Regions from separate parts of the Homo sapiens genome. Here region 2 is linked to region 1. The links are contacts of gene promoters, found by promoter capture Hi-C in blood cells and fetal thymus (Javierre and others, 2016). All regions are on one chromosome and are shown on one strand. Each heading gives the region's core, a stretch centred on a gene start or on the middle of the fragment in contact. The rest is flanking DNA. Distances are from core to core; before and after follow the strand shown.

The links. Contacts are between HindIII fragments. The CHiCAGO score rates a contact against its expected background, and 5 or more counts as called.
Region 2: a fragment that was not itself captured here is called in contact with the fragment with the promoter of GINS3 in region 1 in 2 of 17 cell types (naive CD4 T cells and total CD8 T cells); the score reaches 5.5 in naive CD4 T cells.

Annotation. Positions count from the first base shown.
Region 1 is chr16:58,390,383-58,394,017 of GRCh38, forward strand. It overlaps GINS3 (GINS complex subunit 3), which reads left to right and starts at 2,089. Exons shown (of 3, transcript NM_022770.4): 1 at 2,089-2,405. The coding sequence starts at 2,220. RefSeq lists enhancers at 1,728-2,305, 1,912-2,401, 2,306-2,882. The HindIII fragment of the contact is 2,062 bases long and covers 857-2,918 here.
Region 2 is chr16:58,503,861-58,507,495 of GRCh38, forward strand. It overlaps NDRG4 (NDRG family member 4), which reads left to right. Exons shown (of 15, transcript NM_001242835.2): 2 at 1-43; 3 at 294-414; 4 at 499-561; 5 at 729-789; 6 at 2,527-2,613; 7 at 2,698-2,754; 8 at 3,052-3,155. Among named protein-coding and RNA genes, the nearest start is that of NDRG4, 5.5 kb to the left of the region's middle. The HindIII fragment of the contact is 178 bases long and covers 1,536-1,713 here.

The DNA of each region.
Region 1 (3,635 bases), core at 839-3,338:
AACATTGCCTTCAATTAGCCAAATTATATTTCTGTCTCAAACTACATCCAGTACCATATATTCCATGTCATCAGAGAAATTCTAAATTATCACTGCAGATTGTGTTTATTTTTACATTGGACTGTATCACAAACTGAACATTTAAAATATGAAAAAGGAAAAAACCTTCATATAACTGCCTCTCAGTGTGCCTCCTCTCTAAAGCTTCTAGGCTGCTTTCTCCACTGGGCTGCAGACCTTCCTGTCTAGTAGCTCTTGGACACCATGTGTCCCAAACTGAACTCATCCCTTCCCTCCAGCTGCCCCTATTCCTGTGTTCTGTGTATCTATTCATGACATGTCCATCCACCTGGTCAGCCACGTTCAAAACTTGAATCTTTTGACTACTCACTATACTTCACTTCCTATATCCAATTGGTTGCCAAATACTGCCCACTGAACAGCTTCCAAGCATCTAATCTCTCTCTTCTTTATCTACTGCTGGAATTCTCTTCCTGAAGCCCAGATTTATGTTATTATTTGCCTTACATTTTCCTCCCATTTTCTATGGAATGGCCTAACTCCTTAGAATGGTACCAAGATTTTCCACAGTTTGGCCATTCCTTTCCACCCCACTGCACCTTGTTTTCATTGTCCTCAGAATTTCATTTATAAAGGTGACTGGGTGATGACAATCAATGAGTTAGTGGCCAATGCCTTTGAAAATTTTATTATAGTTCTCAAGAGAAGGGGCTGTGCCTACGGCCACACGAGAAAGTATTAGGGTCAATGAGGAGGTAGAGAGAGCGAGGAGAAAGCCCAGAGCCTTTATTGCCGTGGGAAGGAATGGGCGAAGCAGGGAAGGGAAGTCTGAACAAGCTTAGGATTGAATAATTTGAATAATGTTGGCAAGCTCTGGGATATAGAGGTGAATTTTAGTTGTCTGGTACTTGGCCATGGGGTGGTTTATTACAGTGACTTGGGGCAGGGAAAATATTGGTGTGTGAGATGGATAAAGATGGTGTGGGGATATAGGCTTGGGTTGGTTGGTTTGTAAATGAAAGGGGTGTTCACAAGCAAGTTGTTTGCTATCTCTAGGAATTAGCTAACTCTGAAAGGGGCAATTCCTCCCCAGGTCCCCAAGGCCCCAAGATGTCAAAGCATCATAAAATACAGAAAACAGAAACTAAAATCCATGGTTAATACACACCTCCCTTCACACACACCCTTTACTCCCGGCTCCAGTAGCCCCAGAAATGCTCTAGACGAAGTAAGTTCTGTAGTGCATCTCTCAACAATATGCCGCCACCCATAGCCCTGGCTGAGGAGAGCCACCAAACCTGGTACTATGCGACCATGGTCCTTCCCCTGGTCACTGGATAGTGATCGCACCCAACACAGGCACCCCCATCTACAGGGTGGCTGGAGATCTATGACCATTGTGGCGTACCTGGACCAATCAATAAACTGGACCAATTGGATTTCCATTTTTAGGGATTTAAATTCAGAGCCACAAAAGGAGATTGTCAGTTGATGATGAGCTAAGACACCCTGAAGTATACTCACAACCTTAGCAAGCCATGTGCAGTCTAGTGCTCCACCCCTCTACCCACCCCGTCCAACCCCCACCAAAATACTAACAAAATACAACACACTAGTTCATCATCTAGACCATAATAACTCGCTGGGGATAGTGCTGGAAGTTTTTGTTTGTTTAACATTTCTTTCAAATACTAAGATTAACGGAGTTGCATAGTGAAAAAAACTGTAGGAAAGGGTCGGACTTAGGCCTGGAGTGAAGGGCACAAGATGCTTTTATTTTAAACCCCTAAAAGTGTTGCAAAGTGTTTTTAATTTCATATAAATAGTTAAGGATCACATGAACACAATCCAGTACAAATGGGTCCAGGAGCTTCAACGAGCGTTCCAGCTTCTTCGTAACGTTCCCACACCGTGCAGCAAGCGGAGGGAAGAGAACTTCCGGCGCCCCCACCTACCGCTCCCCAGCCGTGTCCCGCTGCTCTAAATCTGCAGACTTGATCGATTGCTTCTGCCTGGGCGGTACCGCCCGAATTGACTGCTCCTGTCTGATGCGTCCCCGGGCGCGGGAAACGAGTTTCAATCCACTTTCCTGACCCCAACCATCCTGCCCAGTCTCCGCTTCCCCGTCTTGTACACCCCTAACTCCTGAGGCTCCTCCGAATCACGCGAGTGGAAGCGGAGAAGCTCAAGTGGCCGCCATGTCAGAGGCTTATTTCCGAGTGGAGTCGGGTGCGCTGGGGCCTGAGGAGAACTTTCTTTCTTTGGACGACATCCTGATGTCCCACGAGAAGCTGCCGGTGCGCACGGAGACCGCCATGCCTCGCCTTGGCGCTTTCTTCCTGGAGCGGAGCGCAGGCGCCGAGACTGACAACGCGGTCCCACAGGTGAGCCTTTGGGTGCGGGGTCCTGCCCGGAAAGACTGCAGCTCCCGGCGGGCCCCTCGGCCCTGGGACGCCGCATCGGGGCGCGCTGCCCTTTGGGATTTGTAGTTTTCGAGGAGCCAGGGCCGAAGGCGCTAACGACTTCTCGGAAACTCCGCGGGGGTCCCTTCGCGCTCGGGGTGGTCTCCAGACTTCTTGTTCGCCATCTGTGGTGAAACTACATTTATCCTAGGTCGCCAGGCAGCCTCCAACATTGATTTCTTTTTTGAAACTGTCCAAATTAGTGTCTTCCCCCTACCCCATGCAACGTGTGTTGAATGCTTAAAGATTGGCTCCAGCTGAATACTTAAGAATTAGAGTTCTGATCATGTTTGCCTTAAAACAGCTTTGGGTTCTGTAAGAGCATGTGATAAGTAGGAACCCCAAGTTGCTAAATTCATTCCTCCATAATGATGACAGGATCAGTAAGCCCTACTGAGGCTTACTTAGTGGCAGCATGGTTGGGTGTGGGGAGTAAGCTTTTCCCTTTAATCCTTCAGCAACCAGAAAGGCTGGGTCACTTGGCCAGGGCTTCAGTTAGTGGTGAGCTGGGATTCGGAACCCAAGGCCATATGGCTTCAAATATAAAATTGTCCCAGGAACATGGCTTGTAATGATTAATTTGGATATCCTGTTTCACCTAAGTTTTGTATAGAACGATGTTTATTGTTTGGTCTGTTTGTTTCAAGTTAATTTTTATCAAAGTAATACATAACCAACGTTTTAAAAGTCAAATAGGCCGGATGCGGTGGCTCACGCCTGTAATCCCAGCACTTTGGGAGGCTGAGGCGGGCGGATCACGAGGTCAAGAGATCCAGACCATCCTGGCCAACATGGTGAAACCCCATCTCTACTAGAAAGCTGGGTGTGGTGGCCGGCGCCTGTAATCTCAGCTACTCTGGAGGCTGAGGCAGGAGAATTTCTTGAACCCAGGAGGCAGAGGTTGCAGTGAGCCGAGACTGTGCCACTGCACTCCAGCCTGGCGACAGAGTGAGACTCCATCTCAAAAAAAAAAAAAAAAAAAGTCAAATAGTACCAAAAGATTTATAAGAAAAAAAATAGCAGGTCCTGCCTTCCTTTTCCCACTTCCCCCTCCAAGTCCACAGGGCTCATGTACCTTTTTTAGTGGTGTCTTCAAGATTCATCTTCATATTTCTAAATAATATTCTTAAACTTACCTTGTTGGGTTGTTTT
Region 2 (3,635 bases), core at 375-2,874, 110 kb after region 1:
AACCGCCCAGCCATCCTCACCTACCATGATGTGGGCCTCAACCGTAAGTGCAGCCCAGCCTCAGTCAGCCCTCCTCTGCCTCCCATCAGCCAGAGCGGTGAGGCCCCCCACCCTCCCCACAGGGCCCTGTCAGCCCCACTCACACTCACCTCTGTTGCCTTCGCCCTCCGGGCCTCCATTTCCCCGACGGACCCGAGGCTTACACTTCTGCCTTGCCTGCCCTCTGGGGGCCCGGCCTTCCTTCCAGTCCCCCGGCCCCTCTGCTCAGCCATAGTGGAAGTGTGTCTTTGCAGACAAACTATGCTTCAACACCTTCTTCAACTTCGAGGACATGCAGGAGATCACCAAGCACTTTGTGGTGTGTCACGTGGATGCCCCTGGACAACAGGTGGGGGCGTCGCAGTTTCCTCAGGGGTAGGTACCCTGAGCCCCCTCTGCCTGTCTCCAGCTCTGCACCTGAGGCCACACCTGGGCCCTGACCTCCTGCTCTGCCTGCAGGTACCAGTTCCCCTCCATGGAGCAGCTGGCTGCCATGCTCCCCAGCGTGGTGCAGCATTTCGGGTGAGTCCCCGCACAGCCCCTGCGCTAGGGCCCAGGGGTGCCTACCCCAACTGCAGAGCCACCTGGCTCCAGCTGAGGGCTTCAGGCTATGGGCAGGGCCTGCTCTGGATGACATGTATGGGAAATGGCACCCCTAGCCCTAGAGTGACCAGCCTGCTCTGCACCAGGTTCAAGTATGTGATTGGCATCGGAGTGGGCGCCGGAGCCTATGTGCTGGCCAAGTTTGCAGTGAGTCTCCCCATGCCCCCATTACCCCAAACACCAGGGCAAGCCAGGGATGTCCCAGTGGTGGGGACTGGGGGGAACCCTTCAGCCTTGAGGAAGTGTCCCTGCTCTCGCTTCTCCTCCTCCCACCTCCTCTTTATGTAGAAAACCTCTTTTTTCTTTTTTCCTCCAGGGAAATTAACTTTTTTAAAAAAGAGGTTCCTTTCTCCATATAGTTTTCTCAAGAGACTAGAAACTATAACTTGCTTAAACTATTATCCAAAGCCAGAATTTCTAGTAGCAACAAACTATACAACTAACTGCTCTAGCCACTAAATAAGGATCGTCCTTCACTAATTGCCATGGTATTTCAACATGAATAATTTTTTTAGCAAAAAATTTTATTATGGTTGGGAGGTTTAAAGAAGGCACATTTCAAAAACATCATTGTCGGTGGCTCACACCTGTAATCCCAGCACTTTGGGAGGCCAAGGTGGGCAGATCACGAGGTCAGGAGATCAAGACCATCCTGGCTAACACGGTGAAACCCAGTCTCTACTAAAAATACAAAAAATTAGCCGGGCGTAGTGGCGGGCGCCTGTAGTCCCAGCTACTCGGGAGGCTGAGGCAGGAGAAAGGCGTGAACCCGGGAGGCGGAGCTTGCAGTGAGCTGAGATCGCGCCACTGCACTCCAGCCTGGGCAACAGAGCGAGACTCTGTCTCAAAAAAATAAAAAAATAAAAAAAATCATTGTTGGGTAGGAATTCACAAGCTTTTCATCTCTAAAAACAAGCAAAAAAAAAAAAAACAAAAACCCAAAAGACTAATTTTTCACGATCGAAGACATTTACTACTTCAAAAGAAATGACCAAGAATTTTCAACTCCAGTTGCAATGTCAGCACTTAATCATTTTGTTAACTGGAGGCCATTCCCTGCCACCCTAGACAAGCTTGATGTGGTTATGCTGTTTTTCTTTAAGCACAGTCTAACAGTTGAAAAGAAAATACCTCTTTTGCAATGCCTACGGCAAAACAGACTTTGAAAAGGTTGTTTTTTTCTTAATTTATATCATGAGGGCTTCATTTTCTTTTTTTTTTTTTTTTTTTTTTTTTTGAGATGGAGTCTTGCTCTGTCGTCCAGGCTGGAGTGCAGTGGCATGATCTCGGCCCACTGCAACCTCCACCTCCCTGGTTCAAGCAATTCTCCTGCCTCAGCCTCCTAAGTAGCTGAGACTACAGGTGCATGCCACCACGCCTGGCTAATTTTTGTATTTTTATTAGAGACAGGGCTTCACCATGTTGGCTAGGCTGGTCTCGTATGCCTGACCTCAGGTGATCAGCCCGCCTTGGCCTCCCAAAGTGCTGGGATTACAGGCGTGAGCCACGGCGCCTGGCCAGGGCTTCATTCTCTATAAAAGCAAAAAAACAACATGCTTAAGATTTTAAGATGTTTAATACTCAATTTTGCACTTCAAAAATATATTAAGAGCTGATTCTGTTGAAAGAGCGTGTGTGTGTGTGTGTGTGTGTGTCTGTGTGTGTGTAGGGGTGGAAACAATGATAGAGATTCTAAATAAATCCAAGAACTGTGAAGGGTTCAGTGAGAGGAGGACAGGCAGGGGCATCTGGACATGGGTGTGCATGCACAGACCCGGCTGTAGCCGGGTGGCTGATCAGCAGCACCTTGAAGACTTTACAGAGTGTTTCTGCCATCTGCACCCATCCTGGCCCCGCCCGGCCCTGTTTCCCCTCTTACTGCAGCTCATCTTCCCCGACCTGGTGGAGGGGCTGGTGCTGGTGAACATCGACCCCAATGGCAAAGGCTGGATAGACTGGGCTGCCACCAAGGTGTGTGTGGTGACCGGGGGTGGGGTGGGTATACCTAGGGTGGGGTGAGGGGCGGCACTCACGCTGGCGCCCTGCTCCCTGCAGCTCTCCGGCCTAACTAGCACTTTACCCGACACGGTGCTCTCCCACCTCTTCAGCCAGGTAAGGGGGGGAACTTCTGCAGATCTGGGGTGATCTGGGATTTGCCCCTCCCAGCTGGCTCGGTAGGAGGCAGGCGGGTGTCTTTGGCATCTGACCTGGCTCACTCCAGATGCTAAGCCATCTGAAAGACAGACATCCCCTCCCAAGGCCCCACACCTCCTACCTGCCCCCACCCTGTCTCCCCTGCCTGCTGAGTGGGGCAAGGGCCACTCTGGCAGTGACATCTGCCAGCCCCCTCTAAGCCTGCGTCCCTCTGTCTGCCCCTCTGCATGCCTCCATCCATCTCCCTGGGCCTAGGAGGAGCTGGTGAACAACACAGAGTTGGTGCAGAGCTACCGGCAGCAGATTGGGAACGTGGTGAACCAGGCCAACCTGCAGCTCTTCTGGAACATGTACAACAGGTGCGGGTGGGATCAGCAGCCCTGGGACCCAGCACACCCCAGTGGGGGCCCTTGCACACTGCCCCCTGAGGGAGGCAGGCAGACAACACCCTTGCCCTGGTTTGTAGATGGGCACGATATTGGGCCTCAAAGGAGGTCATTTCCTGCACAAGGTCACACCCTGTGAGGGGCAGAGGGGAACAGGGTTTCAGACTCCGGGCCTTGGGCTCTTCCACTTTTCCTCCTCCCCTGGGGGCTTCCCGCTTGGGAATGTTGGGGGTGTTAGTGACATCCCTGACTCCAGTAACCCAGCCTTGATGTTGACGTCTGCAAAATGAGGAAGAGGTCGGATGAGCCTGTGGTTTTCAAGCTGTGCTCCTTGGAGCCCCCTTTAGGGGCTGCCCTGCCCTGCAGGAAGGTGGCCAGGCCCCCTCACTCACGTGCCCTCCTTCTCATTCTTCTACAAATATTAAGCACCTGCTGTGTGCATGGTGCTAAGAA